Regions from separate parts of the Homo sapiens genome. Here region 2 is linked to region 1. Evidence: promoter capture Hi-C in human tissues and cell types (Jung and others, 2019). All regions are on one chromosome and are shown on one strand. The core of a region is centred on a gene start or on the middle of the fragment in contact, and the rest is flanking DNA. Distances in the headings are between cores, read along the strand shown. Region 1 holds the start of SLC10A6 (solute carrier family 10 member 6). Region 2 overlaps PTPN13 (protein tyrosine phosphatase non-receptor type 13).

The links. The method cuts DNA at HindIII sites, captures the fragments that hold promoters and counts their contacts. A contact is called where the count stands out against the background at its distance.
Region 2: a fragment that was not itself captured here is called in contact with the fragment with the promoter of SLC10A6 in region 1 in 2 of the 25 tissues and cell types used here (dorsolateral prefrontal cortex and pancreas).

Annotation. Positions count from the first base shown.
Region 1 is chr4:86,846,118-86,852,235 of GRCh38, forward strand. SLC10A6 (solute carrier family 10 member 6) reads right to left here and starts at 3,267. Exons shown (of 6, transcript NM_197965.3): 1 at 2,622-3,267. The coding sequence starts at 2,998. The HindIII fragment of the contact is 7,017 bases long and covers 1,237-6,118 here.
Region 2 is chr4:86,690,320-86,696,555 of GRCh38, forward strand. It overlaps PTPN13 (protein tyrosine phosphatase non-receptor type 13), which reads left to right. Exons shown (of 48, transcript NM_080683.3): 6 at 3,268-3,355. Among named protein-coding and RNA genes, the nearest start is that of PTPN13, 99 kb to the left of the region's middle. The HindIII fragment of the contact is 5,009 bases long and covers 1-4,384 here.

The sequences.
Region 1 (6,118 bases), core at 2,017-4,516:
GCTTAAAACTGATTTTTTGTTGGTATTCAATTATGAAGAAATGTAATTACTTAGATATTGTTTCACACCGTACTTGATTTTCACCTATTTGAGTTTCTACTGAAAATTGATTTTATTACTTTTGTACCTATAAGCTTCTAAAAATCTAATATTTAGTTTTTGCTTGTTTTTTTAGTTTTGTTGGTAAGACTCAAAATCAAAATTTAGAAAGAAAAGAGGAAAAGTAGCTAATATTTATTGCACAACTACTATGTACCTGGCACTCTGAATACACACACACACACAAATATATATTTCCTCCATAAATATAGTCTTGTGTCAGCCAGGCGCCGTGGCTCACGCCTGTAATCCCAGCACTTTGGGAGGCCGAGACAAGAGGATCACCTGACGGCAGGAGTTTGAGAACAGCCTGGCCAACATGGCGAAACCCCATCTCTACTAAAAATACAAAAATTAGCCAGGCACGGTGGTGGGTACGGGTACCTGTATTCCCAGCTACTCAGGAGGCTGAGGCAGGAGAATCACTTGAACCCAGGAGGTGGAGGTTGCAGCGAGCCGAGATCGCACCATTGCACTCCAGCCTGGGCGACAAGAGTGAAACTCCACCCCAAACTATTATCTATATATGTGTGTGTGTGTTTGAGTGTGTGTACATATATATACATATATATACAGTCTTGTGAGAAATAGGTAAATTTAACCCCATTTTGCCAATGATGAGATAAGGCTTAGATAGGTTAAATAATTTGAACAAAGTTAAAGGTGAATTAAAGATAAGAGTTGGCAAAAGAAAGTAAAAGTAGCTTTATCTTTCATAGGTTTCCTGTTCATTGGTGTTTTTATGACAACATTGACTAATAAGAGATTAAGGTAATAAATGTTCTCTTTCCCAGAACACAAGTGTTTGAGAACACTGAAGATTTATGCTGCTATTCAAAACAGAAGATCTAGTTGTGTTGCTAAATGCCATGGGGGAAATGTGCCTAAACTGCAGACTGATGTAAAACAGATGAGAATTCAAATCTGAGTTCTGCCATACTGGTTTGTAGCATTTGGCAAGCTACTTAACCAATCTGAATCACAATTTTCTCAGCTGTAAAATTCAGAACAATAAAAGGCCATTTACAAGGTTATTATGAGCCCCAAGAAGAAAATAAGCATGAAAGCATCTATCCCATGCCTATGGGGCACTTAATAAATATTAGTTTCCTTTTTCTTTCCAAAAACTTTTAGGTCCTGGAATTTATCTCTGATTTATGAACTTCATGCAAAGAATATCTATCATTTCCCAGTTAAATAATCAACTTTACTGAATTTGAATTAGCAATGTATATTAATGGCTTTTACCATTAAGGTAAAACACAAAAGCAGTGTATATTAGTGGCTTTGTATATGAGTGGCTTTTACCATTAAGGTAAAACACAAAATTCATCAAGTTATTTTTTTTTCAAATCTCTCATAAGTGGGTAAACAAAAACACTGCCTTGGGAAAGTTAGTTCCTATTCTGCATGGTATGAGCCCATTAAAATTTATAGGTGAAATATGTTCCATACGCTAAACATTCAGCACAAGCGGAAAACTGGAAACACATACCTGCAGCTGACTCTCACTGATGTCAACTCCCAGCTCAGTCATTACCTCTGATTCATTCATTCATGGTAAAGTGAATCTCAACTAAATGACATACACATGAAACAAATACTTAAATTTATAAGCAGTTCTTCCCCAGGGCAGGAAGTGAAACGGCATGTTCACAAGTAAGCAAAGAGTCTCGAGAGACCATTGTTTTTAGCTCTTTTTCCAGTGCTATCCCTCTACTCTTTCCTCAAATGCTCTTTTTTTCCCCCATCAAAACATGTAATCCAGAAAAGCATGTGACTAATTCATCCTCATTAAAGTGTAAATAAGGGACAAGGCTTAATGTCTCCCAGAGGTATTTATCTACACCATAATTGGGAATAAGGTCACTGGCTTAAAGGGAAGGAATGCGAATCTAGTGATGATGTTAACGATCTGCAAAGCAACAAGAAAGAACAATTTTAGTCCTGAGAGCCTTCGCATTGCTCCTGAAGTCAAATCGACAAGCCATCTCAGCACTTAAAGCTGGATATGGCCACCAGACACCCCTAAAGCTCCTTTATCCAGTCCTCTAAAGTGCTTCTTTCCTAAAGTAGGTGCTCAGGCATCACTGACTGGAGCTACGGGAGTCTCATTCTGACTATGCCACTGACACAACCACGACGGCTGCTACCAAACCACAATCGTTAGCTTCTTGGGATTCTTGGTTTAAGTCCTAGGAGTTGCTAAAGAGGCCAGTGTAGGTAAGAATGAGCTCAAGCTTAGGAAGGGCCACTGGGTGAGGTGCAGACCTGCCTCCACTGCTCAGAACGCATCCCACTGCTCAGAACAGTAGCCAATAAAGAAAATGATCATCAGCAAAGTAACTTTTGAGCACTGAAAGGAAAGCCCACCCATGGCTGAACAAGTCTCTGTGATATTTGTAACATTTCCCACTAGAATCTCTACCAAAAGATTAGAAGAGTGTTTAACACAAGAGTTTCAGTTATTCCCCCTAGGCAGGATAAGAGACAGACTGCTGAGCTTCCCTGGGGTTACTTACCTGAGATCCATATCTCCATCAACCCAGAAGGTGAAAATGTTAGAGATGGTGCCCCCCGGGCAGCAGCCCATGATGAGAACAGCAATAGCTTGGACTGGCTTCAGAGAAAAGCTAATGGCCAGGAGATAAGCTGTAAAAGGCATGAGCCCAAACTGGCAGAGCAGTCCCACAGCAATGCCCCAGGGTCTCCTGATGTGCGACCACAGCTTCCGGATCTCCACGGAACATCCCAAAGAGAACATGAGCAGCCCCATCATCACAGTGGACACCACTGTGAAAACGAGCTCCAGGTTTCCATGCACCTCCAGTCCCACTGGCAGCTCCTCCTCTGAACTGTTGGCAGGGCAGGCTGAGCTGCTGGAACAATTGGCTCTCATCTCCTCATCTCCTTAAGGCAGCATTACAAATGAACATCGGCAACAATGGCTGGGCAGGTCTATCCTGCCACATTTTGTAATAGTGCAACGAAGTCACACATGGAGAATCATTCCAATAACTGTTGGCCAGCAAGGTGATTCATCCTAATCTGATCAATTTTTTCACAAGTGGCATTATAAAAGTAATTATCACAGGCATGAAACATATAATAAACTGTGGTAAGTAAGGCTTTCCACTTCTGTTCTTACTCACCACTGAATATGTATGTGAGATGAGACAAACAAACTTGTTGTCAAGTGGAGTGACCGGGCTATGTCGTCAGCATCACATTGTGTCCCTGGAAAGTAGGGTGGATGCCAAGAAATAATTTCTCCAAATTCAGTTGGGATTTCAAAGAGCCAGGATGCACAGACAGAAAAGCTAACTCCGGAAAAAACAACAAAGCCAAAGCCACACCTTGTAGCATTAGCAAAGCGTGTCTGCTGGAAATAGAGCAAAAAGAAAAAAAACGCCGGTGGAGGAAATGTCAGGAGGGACTAAGAATAATTTCAAGGAGCTTCAGAATTTGTCTCAGTTTTTCTTCTAGTTCTATTAGAATTTGTGTCTAAAGTCAATAATTAAACACCTGTGAGAATAATATGGTATTAGGCACCTAATTATGTCTCATGAAACATGTGAAAACTAATTCCTTCACCCAAAATAATTCAAGGGAGCTCTCACTTGCTTTTGGAGATAAGAGTCTACTTTGAGATACATACCCCTGGCCTCCTAGGGACATCTGGGAATCCTGCAAGGGGATGTGGTAAAGAGCTTGGTCTGAAATGGAGATGGGGTCTGAGGACAGCCTCTGACCACAGTGCCCAGGGCCCCTCTGTGCATTCTAAGCAGGCACTGCTGGCAAAACCCAAGGACTGTATGGTTCTGTGAAACTAAACCTCTGAAAAAGCAGGTGCCACACCCCTTCTCACAGCAGAAAGTTTATTTGTGGGGCACAGGCTAGTAACAAGGCACACTTCATAAACGCCTCTACCTGTCTCAAGAGGGATACTAGCTATGCATTGTTTATTCATGGATGAGCAAATTCTTCTCCATGACAGAATGCTCAGGACATGCTGACTGTATAAAAATACAAGTTAGATTCAAATGTGAAGTAAATTCTAACTATTTGAAGAAAGAATAAACTGCCTTTGGCAAACAAACCCTGAAGGCAGCTCTGGCCATCCAGCCTCCCTGGAGGTTGCGTATAAGGGGTCAGTCAGCACAGGGCGTATTTACGCAGAGCCCTGCAGAGAATGGACACTGAGGAACGGGAAAGGTCTCTGGAAGGCAAGGTGTTCCCAGCTTGAATGATGCAGAGGTGTGGTCAGGCTGAGGAGGAAGGGAGGAGGGAGACAGCTAACATTTTCTGAGCACTTCTCAGGGGTGACAGAGGTGGTGATATGGTTTGGCTGTGTTTCCCCCGCACCCAAATCTCATCTTGAATTATAGCTCTTATAATTCCCATGTGTCATGGGAAGAACCTGGTGGAAGGTCATTGAATCATGGGGGCGGGTTTCTCCCGTGCTGTTCTCATGATAGTGAATAAGTCTCTCAAGTTCTGATGGTTTGATAAAGGGGAGTTCCCCTACACACGCTCTTGCCTTTTCTGCCACCATGTAAAACGTGTCTTGCTTCCCCTTCCCCCTCTGCCATGATTGTGAGGCCTCCCCAGCCATGTGGAACTGTGAGTCAATTAAACCTTTTTCCTTTATAAATTACCCAGTCTTGGGTATGTCTTTATTAGCAGCGTAAAAACAGACCAATACAGGTGGCTAGGTGCTTTACACATATGTGGCTATGTCTGGTGAAGCAGAACTTTATTTACTTATTTAGCAAGAGAAGGGGTCAGGGGTGTCTGCCTAGATAATGTCCAAAAGCCCCTTAGTCAACCTTCTTTTTTTTTTTTTTTTTTTTTTTGAGATGGAGTCTCCTACTGTCGCCCAGGCTGGAGTGCAGTGGAGTGGCGCGATCTCGGCTGACTGCAAGCTCTGCCTCCCGGGTTCATGCCATTCTCCTGCCTCAGCCTTCTGAGTAGCTGGGACTACAGGCGACCACCACCATGCCTGGCTAATTTTTTGTATTTTTAGTAGAGACGGGGTTTCAGTGTTAGCCAGGATGGTCTCGATCTCCTGACCTCGTGATCTGCCCGCCTCAGCCTCCCAAAGTGTCAACCTTCTTTGTTCCCAGGAAGAGTCACTTGAATCGCCCTTTTTAGTTATACAAATTTAAGTTTTGTATAAGCACCTCCATTCCTGATAAGGATGGTATAAGCACCCCCATTTCTGATGAGAATGGTGTGACGGGAACTTTTGTGATTGCTGGGTACTCAGTGCTGATAGAGGGGAGGGGGCTAAATATGCATAGCAGCCTTAAGGAGCCTCCTGGGAGAGGGAGAAAGGTGACCTTGGCCACTTCTCTTTTAAAATGTAGTGTTGGCCGGGCGCAGTGTCTCATGCCTGTAATCCCAGCACTTTGGGAGGCTGAGGCAGGTGGATCACGAGGTCAGGAGATCGAGACCATCCTGGCTAACACGGTGAAACCCATTCTCTACTAAAAATACAAAAAAATTAGCCAGGTGTGGTGGCGGGCACCTGTAATTCCAGCTACTCAGGAGGCTGAGGTGGCAGAATGGCATGAACCAGGGAGGTGGAGCTTGCAGTGAGCGGAGATTATGCCACCAAACTTCAGCCTGGCAGCCTGCACGACAGAGCGAGACTCCGTCTCAAAAAAAAAAAAAAAAAAAAAAAGTAGTGTTATCAGAATTTCTCAAAAGAATTAGGATGTTTCCGACTGAGGTCAGCTGGTCCTAACACACACCAGGAAAGACAGGGGTTTCTTGCCTGATGACAGGTTCCTCTGTGTCCAGTCACCCTGGACAGATGCCACAGGACACAATGACTAAGTATATGGATATGACCTGAAGAGAAGTCATCTTGAGAGCCCAGGCTTGGACACCGCCATGTTGTGTGCCAGGACTGGACCGGAAGGGACAGGGTGGCAATGGATAAAGGCCCACTGGACTGGGTGGGGCCAATGCATCAAAAGGTCCCAACAGAAACAACCGCAGTGATCCCAGGGCC
Region 2 (6,236 bases), core at 630-3,129, 160 kb before region 1:
TTTCTCATATTGTTTTCAATATTTTTGTTTTAAAAATTCCTCTATGACCAAATAAGCTTGAGAAGAAACTATTTAAAGGAAATTAAATGTATTTTCACTGGAGAACTTCTTAGAACCTTTAATATACTAGACTATATTACTAACCTTCAAGAAGAATAGGCATGTAAATAAAGCATTTCCCAAACTTTCTTGGTCTTGGAGGTCTTTTTTTCAGACATTCTCATAAGACTAATATTCTTTAAAACTTCACTTTATGGATAAGGAAACTGATACCCAAACAACTATGGGATTTGAGTTTCCTATTAGACAGTCCAGGGACTTTTTTATTACACCACACTTTCTCTAAGACTTTTGTGCTGCTTGCTAATTTTACTCCTATAGTAAAATTGTGAGAGATATTTTTTTCTGTCTTTGAATGAAGAATTTTTTTTCTGTCACCATAGAAATTATATTACCTATCTAATAATTGCCCATATTACATATAAAATCTTCATCCCTTTAAGGTTTAGCATTTAGTTCTCTTTATTATAGTGGATCTTTATTGTTCATTTATGTATGAAACCTGTGCTAGGGATTATAGAAGATACAAATTTGAATAAAATATTTGATCTAGGAGCTCTTATCTAAAATGCCATAACCATTTGCTTAATTATAAAATGAAAGAAGGCTATAAAATGATACATAGTAAAAATTTTAACAGCTATGAGAGTTTAAAGGAAAAGGATACAAATTATGACTGCATTGAAAAATAGCACTTTGAAGCTGAGCATGGTGATGCATGCCTTTAGTCCCAGCTACTCAGGAGGCTGAGATGGGAGGACTACTTGAGCCTGGGAGGTCGAGGCTGTAGTGAGGCATGATTGCACCACTGCAGTCCAACCTAGGCAACAGAGTAAGGCCCTACCTCAAAAAAAAAAAAAAAAGTTAAAATTAAAAATAGCACTTCGAACTGTATCCTATAGGCTAGATAATCTCGGCAGAGGGAAGTGAACCTGGATAAAGGCTGTGAAATGGGAAAGCAGGAATGTTTGGGGAACAGTATGACATGGGGTGTATTGTGGGGTTATTTAATGGGAGAGAAAAATAGAAGGATCAGTTGGAATCAGCATGTAGAGAGCCTCTCTTCACAAAGACAAATTTTTACTAAGTATAATAATGCTCCCCTTACCTTTCTATTGCTCTTCCTCATCTCCTAGACATCACTGGGTAGAAGTAACTCCAACAGCTACTGTTTTTTAAGTGTTTGTTTACTTTGTGCCAGACACTATGCTAAGGGGTTGATGTGCATTATCACATTATTCATCATAACAACCTCAATTTAATAGAGATACTTTTATCCTCATTTTAGAGGGCATAAAACTAAGGCTAAGAAAGATTAAATAACTTGCACATAGTCACAGATACGGTAAATGATGGAGACATAATTGGAACTGGGGTGTTTTTGACCCCAGTATATTCCTTAAAGCTTTTGTTGCCTCCAGTAGCTGACAGAATGAGTTAGTCTTTCACTGGTGTGAAATTCATTCTGAGTGACCATCATTCTTACTTAACATTAATTAGCGTGAGTAAAAGTCAGCAAGCCAGCTTACTTGTCTAGGTTTTTCCACTGATTTAATGTTATAATATTTGGACCACAATTTTACTTATCTGCAAAATAGGAATAATAATAATATGTGTCAATCATCCATATTATTAAACTGTTGTAAAAGTAGTTATTTCCACATTAATGAGCTGCTTTGTGGTCCTTAGAAGTTTCTTTGCTATTTCTCCCTTTATTTATAATATGAGGATAATATTGTCTACCATATGAGGTTGTTTGAGGATTAAATAGCACAAAGTGTGTGCCTAGCATATAGTAACTGTTCAATAAACAACAGTTATTAATAGTAACTAACTTCAATGCAGGAATTTTCAAAGATGTGGGATGTTAGTAATACTGTCTTTTCAGTCACTGACAGTACAGTGTAATCTGGACTAACATCATTTATGCAACTTAACTGATAACATGATTTCAGAAATACTTCCATTTACAAGTCTTCTTATAGGTAGAAAACATAATGCTTGAGCCTTGAATATACCACCTTAGATGGGTTTTTAATCCATACTTCAGCAAAATTCACTAATGGAGCAATATTAAAACATTTCTGTGGTATGTGCGAGTTTGTGTGTGTGTAAACAAATATGTATGCATGCTTTTGGTGCTAGATTTAAGTAATTTCTCTTCACCATTCTCTCTTCTTCCATTTATATTGACATTTCTCCTCTATTTGGCCACCTGAATAAAACAGTGGTCTGTCCAGTTTTTTATCCCTTATAGTGTGGAGTTTGACCTAATTTGACATACTTTATTTCAAGCAGATACCCTTTGCTAAAGCTATTAAACTTTAAGATTACATTTTGTTTTAAAGGGAACTTAAAAGAGCATTGATTTAAATTTGTTATCCCTCAGAGCGTCCATTTAAAGACTTAGCATTTCTCGGCCAGGCATAGTGGATCACGCCTGTAATCCCAGCACTTTGGGAGGCCAAGGCAGGCAGATCACTTGATGTCAGGAGTTCAAGACCAGCCTGGCCAACATGGTGAAACCCTGTCTCTACTTAAAATACAAAAATTAGCTGGTGTGGTGGTATGCACCAGTAGTCCCAGCTACTCTGGAGGCTAAGGCATGAGAATCGCTTGAACCTGGGAGGCAGAGGTTGCAGTGAACCGAGGTCCTCCAACCTGGGTGACAGAGTGAGACTCCGTTATATTTAAAAAAAAAAAAAAAAAAAAAAGACTTAGCATTTCACAAATGTAATTTCTGAAGGGCAAGATCTATAAAATTATTTCTGAAAGTAATTTAAATTCCTCAATTCATAGTTATAATCAAGAGAAAGCTTTATTATACCAAAATTAATGTGGTTTTTAAATTATAAACTAACTTAAGAGTAGTTAGTGGTTGGGGAAAAAAGAAGACTTCAAGTTTACTGTTTTCAAATAGAACTCATTTTAACAAGTTTAATCTGATGGTATTTTCTAGTTAGTAGGTTACTCTTCAGTCACTGCTTCTTCCCTTTTAATTTTCTGAAATGAATTGGCCAGCACTGGTCTACATAAATCTTATCCAAGAATACAAATTACCCTACAAATACAATAGGACATAGAGTCTCATTATTTAATGTTACATCCTCCAAAAACTGTGTAACTAGTGTCATTCTGTAAACAGTTACCATGAAAACAAAAGGGAGATCCTTTTGTCAAACTTGATTTTTTATTACCTGTGTACAGACAGATCAGCTTTCCTGTAACAGTGAACAAAAGCCTGATCGAAGCCAGGCTATTCGAGATCGATTGCGAGGAAAAGGATTACCAACAGGTAAGAGTATATTAATAGGAAATGTCTAGGCTTTAACCTTATCCCATTGTTTTCTTTACAAAATTATACTTACCTGGCTTTGAAATCTGGTAATTGAGACTATGATTAGAACGTAAACGTACAAACTGGAGGTAGGGAATGGGCAGGAACACTAGCTACATTAAAAATAATTTCATTAAACTTATACAGAAAACATTATTAATATACTTAGGATTCCCAGAGTAACTTATTTCCCTTTCCAGTATTGGTATATCAATAATAATAATATTTATTTACTTTATCGTGGTATTTCATATTAAAAATACTTTTTAAAGCATGACTAAATAAACACATGTATATGTTTATGAACATAAACACTACTGAAACAAAAGTTTCAGAAAACGTTTTTCTTACTGCACTCTGATATTTTTTATCATATTTCTTTTTTTTTTTAAATGCTAGTAATAACTCACTAAATAGATTTTATCATGGAGTTATCAAATACTACCTTAGGTCATGTGATACTTAGTAAATAAAAACTAATGATGAGTAGTGATTTTGCTATTTGTCAATAGCATTATATAATTCTGTATCCTATGATAAGTATTAAATTTATTTTTTTGAAAGAAATGAATGGAAATTTCAGGCCAGGCGTGGTGGCTCACGCCTGTAATCCCAGTGCTTTGGGAGGCTGAGGTGGGCGGATCACCTGAGGTCAGGAGTTCGAGACCAGCCTGGCCAACATAGTGAAATCCCATCTCTCTAAAAATACAAAAATTAGCCGGGCATGGTGGCAGGCACCTGTAATCCCAGCTACTCGGGAGGCTGAGACAGGAGAATCTTGAACCGGGGAGGCAGAGGTTGCAGTTAGCCGAGATCACACCACTGTGCTCCAGCCTGGGCAACAAAGAGTGAACTTCTGTCTCAAAAAAAAAAAAAAAAAAAAAAAAAGAATGGAAATTTCAAACACTTGAAATAAAAGTAAATATAATTTTATGTGACAATTTATTTTTCATTGCTACTTTCAGGCATGGCTTATTTATAAAATAAACTTTTGATTTTGTTGATTATCTTTGTTCTCTTCTTATCAAGCAGTTTTGAGAATCATGATAATCTAAACATTAACAGAAATACTTTTTTAGATCTTGTCCTAGATCTTGGGGCTAGGTAGAAGTAAATGTACAGATTGCTTAAATATATTCTAACAAAATATATTCTAATTGATATAGCTTAATAAAATAGATTAAAAAGTTAAGATTTTAATTTAATCAGAGCATCAGAGAAACCTGTCTTACTTAAAACCTATGAGCAACTCTAATTGTGAAAAATAAATGTAGACCTTGACTATCTGGACCAAATGTTTTACAGAGTCAGAACTCTCATATCTGAGAGGAAGGAATGTGTAAGTTAAAGAAAAGCAGTAAAATTGTTTCTAAGGGAGTGATTTTGTAATGGTACAGTTAAGTATCTGTTTTGGTGCTTCCATTTTAATTATTGTGAATAAAGACTATCTGAAAAGATATTTTAGCTTTCATTTCATTGGTATAGTAATTTATTTCTGGTTAGATCAGAGTTTTTTTCTAATGCATATATGATTAGTTTATATATGGGCCAAAAAAATAACAGTGTGGTAACAATTTTGAAAGTATTTTTCATCCTTTCTTGCAAATATTTCCTTCCTATACTTATGTCCCCATACTGTACTTTTGTCACTTTCTTTTTGTAGGTAAAAATATGTTTATTTTTATACTATTCTAGGATTTGAGATAGTATATAGTGTAAACTTTAGCACTAATAATAGCAGCAATTTGTTAATTGATCAAATTTGCAGTCAGTCTCCTATTTTAGAATCGAATAATAACAAACTTATAGATGAATATCAATAGCAAGCTGAAATAATCTTTTGGGAGACATAGTGAACATTTTAATAAGTAGAACATTAGATTTAAAAGACATTTTTGTTTTTCTTACTTATCTTTTTCTATTTTCTCCCTCTCTTTCTTTGCTCTCTCCACCTCCCTCTTTCCTTTCCTCTCTCCCTCCCTCCTTTCTTATTTCTCTTTGTTATTCTTTCTCTAACCTCTTTCAGCAGTTCCCTACTATCATTTCCTACTACCATTAAGTGGCCATGTTATGTAGTTGAAGTTTATTTGCTTATGTGTTACTTCTTGATTTAGTAACTGTAATGTTGTATTATTAATTTTTGCAGACAGTGTATTTTTCTAAGAATAAAAAATATTCACATATGATTTATTTATGTATATATGACTTCCATCCTATCTCCCTTTCCAGTGTGGGTCTGTAGAAAGAAAAAGGTGAGCCTTGCAATATTTATCAAATTGTAAGGATTATCAAATGCTAACATAATTTAGATTTTATTACTTTCAATGGTTCAGAGGCTTAATGTTTCAGAAATTAATTGTTACATATTATTTTAAAGATAGCAATTAAGAGATTATACTGAGTCTATACCTACTTGATAACATATTTTTAATAGGTTATTTGTCATTTACATATATACGTATATTTGTTTCATAAAGGACATTCATAAAAGTTAAGCTTTCTGGACATATAGATGCTGGGGATAGGGAAAACCTATATTAAGTTCATTAGTTTTTATAGGTGTTCAGTGTATATTTGTTGACTGAACGAGAAAAGGTTTTATGGAAATACTGGATTTTGAAGTGTAATATATTTGTAGTATACTTCTTTAATAGCTCCATAAAGAAATATGTGAGACTATGGTTTATTTATTTAGCCTATGTTAAACATTAAGTTGTATGCAAAAGAAAAATAAAACATCTTGCCTCATATTATTGGACCATTTTCTTATTATAACAATAAAAACATCAGAAATTTTAATCCAGATTTTAATGCCTTTTATTTGTGATTTTGTTTTTAT